Regions from separate parts of the Homo sapiens genome. Here regions 1 and 3 are each linked to region 2. The links are contacts of gene promoters, found by promoter capture Hi-C in blood cells and fetal thymus (Javierre and others, 2016). All regions are on one chromosome and are shown on one strand. Each heading gives the region's core, a stretch centred on a gene start or on the middle of the fragment in contact. The rest is flanking DNA. Distances are from core to core; before and after follow the strand shown. Region 1 holds the start of DLEC1 (DLEC1 cilia and flagella associated protein). Region 2 holds the start of SCN5A (sodium voltage-gated channel alpha subunit 5). Region 3 holds the start of ACAA1 (acetyl-CoA acyltransferase 1).

Region 1 (4,273 bases), core at 927-3,426, 610 kb after region 2:
ATCAATTGAGGCCAGAAATTTGAGACCAGCCTGGGCAACATAGTGGGACCCCATCTCACAATTTTTAAAAAATAAAAATTTAGGCCAGATGTGGTGGCTCATGCCTGTAATCCCAACACTTTGGGAGGCCAAGGTGGGCAGATCACGAGGTCAGGAGATCGAGACCATCCTGGCTAACACAGTGAAACCCTGTCTCTACTAAAAATACAAAAAAATTAGCCAGGTGTGGTGGCAGGCGCCAGCTACTCAGAAGGCTGAGGCAGGAGAATGGCATGAATGTGGGAGGTGGAGCTTGCAGTGAGCTGAGATTGCGCCATGCACTCCAGCCTGGGTGACAGAGTGAGACTCCATCTCAAATAAATAAATAAATAAATAAATAAGCTGGGCATACTGGTGCACACCTGTGGTCCTAGCTACTCCAGATGCTGAGGAGGGAGGATCAGTTGAGCCCCTGATGTTAAGGCTGCAGTGAGCTGTGATCACATCACTGCACTCCAGCCTGGGCAACAGAGCCAGACTCTGTCAAAAAAAAAAATTTGTAATATGTATTACTTTTTTTCTTCAAAAAAAGGGATCACTATTTGCCAATTCAGACTCTGGTATAGTGGCTACTTATGGGACAGATACTGAGAAGATAGAATCCAGTGAACTGGGTGACTGGTCATGGGGTTTATAGGTTTATAATGCTCCATATATTCTGGCTCATGTGAATGACAGGGATGTGAGTCTGAAGTTCAAGGGCAAGGTCTGGCTGGGTAGGCTGAAGTCTTAGCAGAGTGAATGTGGTGACCCACGAATCACAGAGTACAGGATCCCAGCCAGGGGCTCTGGCTGCACTTTAAGAAGCCTATAACCCGTGGAGGCGGCGAGACTGGTCCTGTAAGTATCTCACATACTGTATAGGTATTCATTTTGTTAATGTCTATCTACCTCAGTTAGGTTGAAAGCTACAGAGGACAGGTTGCGTGTGTGAGTGTGGGTGTGCCCGAACACTGGCGTTTTTATTCACTGCTGAATCCCCACTGCCTAGAACAGAGTATGACACCCAGCAGACATTCAACAAATGTGTTAAGTGAAGGAATGACTGAAGCTAACGACGTGGGATGCATGTCACTTAAGGGGCAGGTAGAGGACAGAACAGAAAGGAGAAGAAGAAGATCTGAGAGGCAGGAAGCACACCGGGGTAAAGGATCGGGTATGGGAGGAGTGCCCACAAGTTTAAGGGAGTCTTCAGTAGTGTGGCCAGCAGAGGCCGACTCAGCACAGAGGCCGCGAGTCAGCTGGTTTTCTCCTTGTACAGATGAGGAAGCAGAGTTGCTGTTCTAGAGGCTAGACACGCTTCCTAAAATCTGCGCATGAATGGCCCAGTCAAGATTGTGGTTTGTGATACAAAGGCACCCCAAAGCCGGGTGACTTTTGGCTTTATCCTCTCCATGGAACAACTATTCAGCGGTCTGCCGCAGTCGTTCATTGATATATGCAATATATAACGTATGTGTCTAGAGAAATATAGACAGGTGCTACAGATATATGCCGCACGTTGTGTGGTATGTGTGGTATTTGCGCATGTGTGTGTATGGATAGAGCGTCCTTCCACTAGAATGTCGGGCCCACTTCGGCATGATGGGCTGTTTCTCAACTGCAGCCCCAGATCCTGGAACAGCGCCTGGCACCTGGCAGGTGCTGACGCGTGCCGAGCGCTGAGACCCCGGCACCGTCCGCAGACGCGACGCCACCGCCACGTTACCTGCTGCAGCTGGTCCACGAACTCCTCGTGGCGCTCATTCTCGCTGCCGCGGGCCTTGATCAAGCTTGCGCTCACTTCGTCGCCGATGACCTCGGCTGAGTACAAGTTGCGGAAGACGCCGGTGAGCAAGTGCGAGATATCTTGGGTGCGCAGCGAGGAGGGGCGCAGACGAAGCAGCTGAGGCTCGGGACGCTGCGCCAGCGCAAGCTGCGTGAGGCGGCGGGGCCGGGCTGCGAAGCTGTAGTGGAAGGCCTCAGAGTAGGCGAGGGAGGAATACAAGGAGGACTTCCAGGTGGGCTGGCTGGGGCTGCTGGACCCGGCTGGTGGCGAAGTTGGCGCCCACATTGTCCCCTGGCACTCGTTGGTCCGGGACGCTAAAGACCTCCGCGTTTTGGAGCTCCTGGTCTCCATGGCAACCGAGACGCCGCTAACTCCCTGCGGCACTTCGGCTTCCGGCCTCACCCCTTCCGCCTTGCCTTTCTCTCGGATCCCGTCATCGCTGTGGTCATTGTAAACATTTGTGTCTTCAGCATTGTCCTTTTAAAAGTGAGCTTACTAAGTGTGAGGACCCATGAAGAAAGGTTTAATTGACACAGCCAGGCCTATCTGCAAAACCTTGTACCTAACTACCTACCTTCATCCATTCTTTAATTTGTTAAGCAACTGTTCATTCACTCATCATATTTATTGTGTAAAGATTGTGTTTCAGGTCTGTGCTGATTGCTGAAGATACCAAAGAAGTATGATGCTGCTTCTGCCTTCAGGAAGTGCACAGTCGTGTATGTGTGTGTTTGTGATGATGGCGGTGGGTGTGGAGGTAAAAGTAAAACAACTGTACTTTAGTGGGTTAAGGCCAAGGTGGAGATAAATATTGGTTGTCATGGAACTACAAAGGAGGACAGGAACTTAGTCTGTAGAAGGAGCGATTACTTCTTGGAACAAATGAAAACCAAGCAGAGATTTCAAAGAAGGAGTAGACTGAACATCATTAGTCATCAAAGAAGTGGAAATTAAAACCACAATGCAGTACTACAGTTAGTAGAATGACAAAAAACAAAAAAGTACCTAAATAAGAGCGTGTGTGTGGTGGCTCACACCTGTAATCCCAACACTTTGGGAGGCTGAGGCACGAGGATCACTTGAAGCCAGGAGTTTGAGACCAGCCTGGGCAACATAGGGAGACCCCATCTTTACAAAATATTTAAAAATGTGGGAAGGACGGAATGAAATTCAGGAGGAGTGGAACTTAAAGAGTGTGAGGGTGGAGGAATGACACTGATAGGTTAGGGCCAGATCATAAGTGGGTTGGTAGGCCACAATAGGGAATTTGGACTTTATTTTGAGGGCAGTAGGAGGTTCATCAAGGGTCTTAAGCTGGGGCATGTCATGGTCAGCTCTGTTTTACTAAGATCATTCTGATTGCTATGAGAATAGACAGGAGAGGCAAGAGGCATCAGGAAGTTCAGTTAGGAAACTAGCACAGAAGTTAGGAAAGAGATGAAGGGAGATTGGATGAGAGAGAGGGAACTGGATTGGAGATAGATCCAAAAAGTAGAATTGATAAGACTTGCTGGTGGATAATGGGAGGTAAGAAACAGGCACCAAGAATGACTCCCAGGTATCCTGTGTGTGCAATCAGGGGGGTGATGACAGCATCACTGAGATGGAAAAGAGGACTGCATTTGTCCAGGGCAGCAGCATAACATCACATTGACTGTTGTCATTTGCACACCATGGCTTTTGCTCACAGGTGATACAACCAACCACTTTCTACTCCACACTGAGTTTGCTTGCCTTACATCCTGAAACCCACTTCCAGAGATGAGTGCTAGCATGCTTGCCCACACACCTGGGCTACTTCCACTTCTACTTCTCTTGGTTGGGCCTGGCTCTCTCTTTTGTCCTTTCCAGGACCTTTTCTGTCCTGAGAGCTGAGAAGCCAGGGCCGCCTGCCCTGGACTGTGTGCTTGAGAGGCCCATCTCTGGCTGTCCCCCGCACTCTTTCCCACAGAGTAAGAGATCACAGGGCCAAGATGATGTGCCCCGTGCCTCGCCTCCAGGCACATGGGACCCCAAAAGTATGTGCCCACATGTCCTGAGTTCATTCCAGGGCCTATGCAGGCCTCTTCTTTAAGTTTATCCTCCCAGGGCTGACTTAAAAGGGTAGCTATGGTGGGGGGAGGAGGAGGGAAGTGGAGGGAGCTTTGGCAAACAGGCATTTCTCCAATTTTCCACAAGCATGCAAGGCCCCCAGTGGTGCAGGAAGGAGCTGTGGGTAGGAAGAGGGGTGCAACAGTCTGGGGGCCTCCATTGCTCTAATGTGGCAAATGGAGCCCCAGTTGGGTGGTCTTGTCATTTAGGAGCAGTTCCGCTTGTGGAGGCTCTCTGGCCCCCTTCCCTGTTATAGGGAAGGACAGGACAATGGACTCTTGCCATTACTTTTGGCTTCTCCACCCTGCCTCTAGACAGCCTCAGAGACAGTCACAGAGTCTGACTAGCCTGGGAGAGGTCTCCCTTTGCATGACC
Region 2 (3,709 bases), core at 888-3,387:
TCAGGGAAATGCCAATTAAAACCAGAATATGAAACCTCTGCACACCCACTGAAGGAGATAAAATGAAAATGACAAAAGTATTAAGTGTTAAAGGATGCATGCATTCACTGCTGGTGGAGTGAATACTGGTGGAACCACTGTGGAAAACTGTCTGGCAACATCTGCTAAAAGCGAACACACATTATCCTATGACTCAGCAATTCCACTCCCAAATATGTACCTGGCAGAAATGGGTACATATGTTCATCAAAATTTATGTACTAGAATGTTCATAGGTGTGCTACTCATGAACCCCAAACTAGAAACTACCCAAACACCCATCAGCAGTAGAATGGGTAAAGTCTGGTATATGCATACAATAGGATGCTGTACAGCAACAAGAATGAATGAACTACAACAACAAGCAGCAACATGTGACTCTCATGAGCGTAAAGCTGATCAAAAGAAGCCAGACACAAAAGAGCTCCTATTATACAATTCCAGTTTAAATAAATATCAAAACCAGGCAAAACTAGCAAGGGGAATTCGATGTGACTGTAGTAGTTAACTCTGGGTGGGTGTAGCGGTGGTGACAGAAAGGGGCACAAAGAGGTCTTCTGTGGTACTGATAACGTTTGGTTTCTGTGTTGTGCTGCTCACACGGATGTGTTCAACAACAGAAAACCCTTTCAAGTGAACACTTAGGATTTGTGCAGTTTTCCATTATGTAGGTTCAATGGAAGTAAAACATAAAAAGAAAAGCTTTGGGCTGTTAGAAGAGAAAATGCATATGCACAAACAACAATACTACCTGTTTTACAAGGATGTGCACATAAAGACCTACTTTAGCTCCTAGAGGGGTGCCTGTGTGGAGAAGGAGATGGCAGTGGAGTGATGATGGGGGAAGAAATAAAACAAAAACACAAGAGAGGAGTAATGATATGGTTAACCCAGCTTTGAACCTGAGGCAAAGTAAAGGCAAACCCTGGGCGAAACTGAGGGGCGAATAAAGGACATACTAGTTTTTAAAAACATTTATCTCTGACAGCTGACAACATGTTCCTGTTATTGCTTTAATTAAATAGGGTTGGCCAGACATGGTGGCTCACGCCTGTAATCCCAGCACTTTGGGAGGCCGAGGTGGGTAAATCACGAGGTCAGGAGTTCGAGACCAGCCTGGCCAACATGGTGAAACCCCGTCTCTACTAAAAATACAAAAAATTAGCTGGGCATGGTGACGAGCACCTGCAATCCCAGAGACTCAGGAGGCTGAGGCAGGAGGATTGCTTGAACTGGGGAGGCGGAGGTTGCAGTGAGCCGAGATCACGCCACTGCACTTCAGCCCTGGAGGCAATGCAAGACTCCGTCTCAAACAAAACAAAACAAAACAAAACAAAAAATTTAAATAGGGTCTGGCAAAGAGAAGGGAGTAGCCAAGATCTTGGCAAGGGCTCTTTGTAGGAAGTGCCTGTCTCCAGACACCTGTTGCCTGTCTCTGCACTCTGAGGCCTCTCTAGGACCACAAGGTGTGCTTTTATGGATGAACTTCTACAGGTTCAGAGCTCTGGTTCCCCATCCCCTGGGCTTCTCTCCCCCTGTTTAAATTCAGGGTGCATGTAGACTTACCAGGCTCAGCCCACCTCTCCTGCTGGCAACATCCAGTTGCCCAATACTAAACAGGAGAGTGAAAACCCCACTTCTGCTACATATGGACGGAAGGGAGGCAGGTATCCACCCCTACTCCCAGCAGCTTCTATCCTAGCCTTGTCTCCTGCTTGACCCAATGTCAGTTTGCAAGTAGAAGCTTCATTCTGAGGCCGAGAAGCCCGTGATGGAAGTTCTTAGGGGAGGTAGGACCTTCCTGCTACTGTACTCTCCTGCCTGGTAGGTGTGACTCTGGGAAGGCGGCTGCACGTGGGTTGAAACGTTGACACTGCCTGCACTTCCCCTTCTGGCCGATAGTGGGAGCTGCTAGCCAACCTGAGGCTCGTCAGGCGCTAAAGGCTGGCAGCCGACCTGTGTGGTCCATCCGTCTGTACCCCAGACACCCCACTCAACTCGGGGCCGGAGAGGCCCATGTCCTGAACTTTCCTGTGGACTGACTTTCCTACTGATCCCCTCCTGCAAGCAGAGCAGCCCCTCCGTATGTACCTAAGGCGTCCAACGAAGCCCCACACCCAGGTCGCAAACGGACGCTGTCCCCCACCCCCCTCTTTGCCCTCCCACCTCTTCAAGATCCCCATCATGGAGGAGCAGGTCCCAGCCTCTGGGCTCCCAAACCCAGCACCTCTGTGCCCTCTGAGACCCTGGCACCCATTTGGCTCTCTAAGAGCGGTTCTTGCTTTTGGGAGCCCTGAAAATGTGGCAGAAAAGTGTACCATCCCTTCCAATGACTGTACTTTTTTCGTGGGCAAAAGCTGATGGCCTGTTTTTTGTTGTTGTTTTGTTTTGTTTTTGTTTTTGTTTTTAGAAGCGCAAGATTTATTGTGAAGAGGGAAAGAACAAAGCTTCCACAGCGTGGAAGGGGACCCAAGCGGGTTGCCCTGATGGCCTGTTTTGTTTAAACAAGAAGTGTGTCCCCATAGGTCCTGGGCATGGGCATGGGAGCAACTGTTTGTCAGCGTATGTCTCCGTGTGTGTGTGCCTGTGACCATGTCTCTGAGTGAGAAACAGTGGGTGTGTAAGTATGTGACTCCAGGCTCTGCATGTGTCAAGGTGAAGGTTGTATGTGGCTCAAGAGGGTGGAAGTATATATATAAAGAGGTATATACATGTATATATATGTATGTGTGTGTGTGTGTTTGCGCGCGCGCGTGTGTGGGTGTCTCTGTGTTGGTTGCCTGCTTGCTTCTGGGTCTGGGTGTGTGTTTGGTTCTGTCAGCATGTGCGTCCGTGTGTTCAGGTAGATGTGTACCATTGTGCAGATTTCTGTGGCATCACTAAGTGTGTCTCCAGGAAAGTGTGGTTCGAGTGAGTGTGTGTGTCTCTGTGTCAGTGTGTCAGTGGATGTGTGTCTAAGTCATGTGGGTGTCTAAGTTTGTCAGAGTGTCTTCCTCAGTGTCAGTGTGTGTCAATGATGTGTCTGTCTGTGTCTGTGTGGGTGTGTGGGGGTGTGTATCTGTCTCAGGGTGCATGTGTGTGTCTGTGTCAGTGCAGGTATGCCTATGGCAGCGTGTGTCTGTCTCGGCATGAGTGTCAGTGTATGCCCGTGTCCACGTGGGTGGGTGGGTGTCTGGTAGCCTTCCCAAGTCAGCAAGGTTGCGTGTGTGTGTGTGTATACTCTGGCGGGTGCTGGTGTGTATGCCAGTGTTTGTTAATGTGAGCCTGTCCGCGTCCGCGTGGGTGGCCATCTGTGGTGAAGCGTCGCCGGGTCGCCGTGTGTGTACCCCCGCCTATGTCTGTCTGTCCGCGGCCGCGTGTGCGGCTGTCTGTGGCTGTGAGCCCCCGGGTCAGTGTGGGAGTGTGCGCCCCGGCGGGCGCTGGTGTGTCCCCCCTCCGAGCGGGCGGAGCACCACGTGCGGAGCCCTGGGCGCGTCGCTCTGGGGCGGAGCCAGCCCGGGGCCCCAAGCCCCAGGCCGAACCCAGGCGGGGCCCGCCCCGACCCCGCCCCCGACCCCGCCCCCAGCCCGAGCCCGCGCCGCCTGCCCAGCCCGGGAGCCCGAACAGAGCCGCGGAGCCGAGACGGCGGCGGCGCCCGTAGGATGCAGGGATCGCTCCCCCGGGGCCGCTG
Region 3 (4,135 bases), core at 396-2,895, 510 kb after region 2:
GCAGCCAGGGGAAGGGAGGATGTGGAGGAGACCGGGGCCGCAGACCCCGCGCCGGGACCTCCTGCAGCCATGGCGGGCGGTCCTGGAGCCTCAGCGCGGTCGGGTCGCATTGTCTGCCAGCGCTTCCTCTTTCTCCTGCGGCACCCGCCCCGCCCCGCCGGCTTTCGCTTTCCGAGAAGCGCCGCCCTGCCCTACAATCTGGAGCCCCGAGCAAAAGTGCGGAGGCGGGGGTGCCCACCTCTACCCTTGAGGTCTCGAGGCGGGTGATGTGGGGGGCGTAAGAAGTAGGAATCTGCCTTTTGAGATCTGGAGAGGTCCACGGCACCGCCCTCGAGGGTCTGGTGATGGTGCTAGTAGGTTGGCGGCGGAGTGAGGACGACCCTCCTTCGGGGGTTGTAGGAAACGGGCCTTGCTTTTTGGGATCTGGTGGAGCCACAGTTCTTCCACGGAGGAATCTGAGGGGTTCATACGGTCCTGCCCTCGAGGATGGCGAGGAGGGGACAAGTGGGAAGGCACCAGCTCTGCCCTCCACTGTCTCTGGGGAACACGCAATCCTGCCAGTAGGGGTATGGGAAGACCCCTGCTGTGCTCCCCGAGGTGGGAGTGGGAAACGGACAGCTGCCTTCTGGAGCCTGAGGCATGCCGTGGCCCTGCCCTCGAAATGGTTGGGGACGTCATGACACTAGGTTGGGGAGCACAAGGCACCCTGTCCTTTGGTGTCTGTGGAAAGCCCAGCACTACTCTCCAGGGTCTCAGGTGAAGACATGGCCCTGCTATTGGGAGTCAAGGGGGCACGTGGCCTTGCCCTTTAGGTTTAGGGACACAGTCCTGACCTGGGGAGCCCTGGTTCATTCATTTACTCATTCGACAAGTACTTATTGATCATCTACTAAGTGTCAAGGGTGTCGCAGGCTCCCCGGATACATGGTACCTCTCTGCCTTGGTGGAGACCCCAGCCTAGCACGGGAAATGGGCACTAATAAAATCATTCCAATTGGGTGTAAAACTGGTAAAAGTGTGAAATGTTCATTCTCCAGTTAGAGAGCTTGTCACACCCCGCATGTCTGTAAAATCTGTTCTCCCGGCCAGCCCGGAAGCCCAAATTCCCTGTCTTCTCGAAAGAATGGGAAAGCCCAACCACGTCGGAGCAGGACTCGGGCGTCTCGGAAGTATTTAGGTCCCCCAGCTCGGGTACTGGGACCGGAGGGATAGCAGAGCCTCCTAGGAAGTGGGTAGAGGAATTAGAGCCTCGGCTTCCATCTCCAGCCCCCAAGCAGTAAGCGGTCCTGGCTGCCCAGCCTTCCGTTTGGCTGCGGGCAGGAGACAGGGATTTGGGGGTCAGGTCTCGGGTTTGGCTACAAAAGGTGGAAAGACTTCCGGTCTGCATTTCTGGGCGGGGATTCGTAAAGATACACCTTCTGGTTGGCTGCGGTAGGCCAAGGTAGGCGGGGCATTGAGTGGAAAGCTCGGCTGGGCGGTGCCTGTGGGCCCTCCTATAGAGGGCTTGGTAGGCGGTGGCGGGGAGGGGCGGGTTCCCAGGCCGACTCTCCTTGTGGTTGGCTGAGGCTGGAGGTGGACGGGACTTTTGGAGGGTCGCTCGCGTCTGTTCGCAGAGCTGTGGGCGGAGTTGAGGCCTTGGAGGCTGAGATGTGGTTCTGCGCGTGTGCGGACGGCTGTCTGTTAACTCCGCGGTCAGTTCCCGGACTGGTGGCTGGTCTGCAGGGTTGACCTGCGCAATGCAGAGGCTGCAGGTAGTGCTGGGCCACCTGAGGGGTCCGGCCGATTCCGGCTGGATGCCGCAGGCCGCGCCTTGCCTGAGCGGTGCCCCGCAGGCCTCGGCCGCGGACGTGGTGGTGGTGCACGGGCGGCGCACGGCCATCTGCCGGGCGGGCCGCGGCGGCTTCAAGGTGAGGCCCGAGGGTCTGGGCGCCGAGTGTGGGAAGACGCCGGCGCGGGCTGGGGTCCGGTTCGTATGTTTGGTTATCCTGGACGCCGGAGGCAGCTCCGCACCCAGCTGTGGTCGCTTTGTCTCCCTGGGGTGGGCATGGGGGAGTGGGGGTCACTGCGGCTGCTCTTTCTGCTGCAGGACACCACCCCCGACGAGCTTCTCTCGGCAGTCATGACCGCGGTTCTCAAGGACGTGAATCTGAGGCCGGAACAGCTGGGGGACATCTGTGTCGGTGAGCGAACCACTCAGGCCCTGCGCTGGGCCTTCCCCGTTCTTCCGTTCGTCCAGAGCTCTCCTCACCTCCCCGCCCCGAATTTTCACTGGGGGAACCTCCATGGCCTTGACCTTTGAAGGGGTCCTGCCCCTTCACACCTGTGGGTATTTCTCGTCAGATGGGAGGAGAGACTGAGAAAAGAAATAAGACGCAGAGACAAAGTGTAGAGTGGGCCCAGGTGACCGGCATCGGTCTCCGAGTTCCCTCAGTATTTATTGATTACTATTTTCACTATCTCGGCAAGGGGAGTGCGGCAGTGTGGGGGAAAGGAAGAGAGATCAGACTGTTACTGTGTCTGTGTAGAAAAGGAAGACAGAAGAAACTCCATTTTGATCTGTACTAAGAAAAATTTTTCTGCCTTGAGATGCTGTTAATCTGTAGCCTTAGCCCCAACCCTGTGCTCACAGAAACATGTGCTGTATTGAATCAAGGTTTGAGGGATTTAGGGCTGTGCAGGATGTGGCTTGTTAACCATTTGTTTGCAGGCAGTATGCTTGGTAAAAGTCATCGCCATTCTCCATTCTCGATTAACCAGGTACACAGTGCACTGCGAAAGGCCGCAGGGACCTCTGCCCAAGAAAGCCTGGGTATTGTCCAGGTTTCCCCCCACTGAGATTGTCTGAGATATGGCCTAGTGGGAAGGGAAAGACCTTACAGTCCCCCAGCCCGACACCCGTAAAGGGTCTGTGCTGAGGAGTATTAGTAAAAGAGGAAGGCCTCTTTGCAGACACCCGTAAAGGGTCGGTGCTGAGGAGTATTAGTAAAAGAGGAAGGCCTCTTTGCAGTTGAGATAAGAGGAAAGCATCTGTCTCCTGCTTGTCCCTGGGAATGGAATGTCTTGGGTGTAAAACCCAACCATACATTCTATTTACTGAGATAGGAGAAAACCGCCTTATGGCTGCAGGTGAGACATGCTGGCGGCAATACTGCTCTTTACTGCACTGAGATGTTTGTGTAAAGTCAAACATAAATCTGGCCTATGTGCACATCCAGGCACAGCACCTTTCCTTAAACTTACTTATGACACTGAGTCCTTTGCTCACATTTTTTCCTGTTGACCCCCTCCCCACCATTACCTTATAGTAATGGTATATAATGCCACATCCCTCTTGCCAAGATAGTAGAGATAGTGATCAATAAATACTGAGGGAACTCAGAGACCAGTGCTGGTGTAGGTCCTCAATTGCTGAGCACCAGTCCCCTGGGCCCACTTTTCTTCCTCTATACTTTGTCTCTGTGTCATTTCTTTTCTCAGTTTCTCGTCTCCACCTTGCGAGAAATACCCACAGGTGTGGAGGGGCAGGCCCTCTTCAGGCAAAACGGGGTGAACAGGGTGATGGTGGGGAGAAGGTCAGCAGGAAAACATGTGAGTAAAGGAATCTGCATCATAAATAAGTTCAAGGGAAGGTACTGTGCTGAGATGTGCATGTAGGCTAGATTTTTGTTTCTCTTTACCCAGACATCTCAGTGTAGCAAAGAGTAACAGAGCAGTATTGCTGCCAGCATATTTCGCTTCCAGCCACAGGGCGGTTTTCTCCTATCTCAGTAAATAGAACCAATAGTCGGCTTTACACCGAGACATTCCGTTCCCAGGGATGTGCGGGAAATAGAGGCCTTCCTCTTTTACTAATCCTCCTCAGCACAGACCCTTTACAGGTGTCGGGCTGGGGGACAGTAAGGTCTTTCCCTTCCCACGAGGCCATATCTCAGGCTGTCTCAGTGGGGGGAAACCTTGGACAAATACCCAGGCTTTCTTGGGCAGAGGTCCCTGCGGCTTTCCACAGTGCATCATGTCCCTGGTTAATAGAGAATGGAGAATGACGATGACTTTTACCAAGCATACTGTCTGCAAACATATGTTGACAAGGCACATCCTGCACAGCCCTAAATCCCTTAAACCTTGATTCAATATA

Evidence for each region. The method cuts DNA at HindIII sites, captures the fragments that hold promoters and counts their contacts. A CHiCAGO score of 5 or more calls a contact.
Region 1: a contact is called between the fragment with the promoter of DLEC1 here and a fragment that was not itself captured in region 2, in 1 of 17 cell types (fetal thymus). The highest score is 5.3, in fetal thymus.
Region 3: the fragment with the promoter of ACAA1 here is called in contact with a fragment that was not itself captured in region 2 in 2 of 17 cell types (fetal thymus and activated CD4 T cells); the score reaches 5.8 in fetal thymus.

The regions. Positions count from the first base shown.
Region 1 is chr3:38,037,111-38,041,383 of GRCh38, reverse strand. It overlaps DLEC1 (DLEC1 cilia and flagella associated protein), which reads right to left and starts at 2,176. Exons shown (of 37, transcript NM_007335.4): 1 at 1,748-2,176. The coding sequence starts at 2,158. RefSeq lists enhancers at 1,382-1,611, 1,902-2,111. The HindIII fragment of the contact is 3,706 bases long and covers 1,814-4,273 here.
Region 2 is chr3:38,649,622-38,653,330 of GRCh38, reverse strand. It overlaps SCN5A (sodium voltage-gated channel alpha subunit 5), which reads left to right and starts at 3,644. Exons shown (of 28, transcript NM_000335.5): 1 at 3,644-3,709. RefSeq lists a silencer at 3,526-3,685. The HindIII fragment of the contact is 703 bases long and covers 1,786-2,488 here.
Region 3 is chr3:38,134,637-38,138,771 of GRCh38, reverse strand. ACAA1 (acetyl-CoA acyltransferase 1) reads left to right here and starts at 1,645. Exons shown (of 12, transcript NM_001607.4): 1 at 1,645-1,907; 2 at 2,087-2,180. The coding sequence starts at 1,737. It overlaps MYD88 (MYD88 innate immune signal transduction adaptor), which reads right to left and starts at 111. Exons shown (of 5, transcript NM_002468.5): 1 at 1-111. The coding sequence starts at 71. RefSeq lists enhancers at 18-427, 1-530. The HindIII fragment of the contact is 10,893 bases long and covers 1-4,135 here.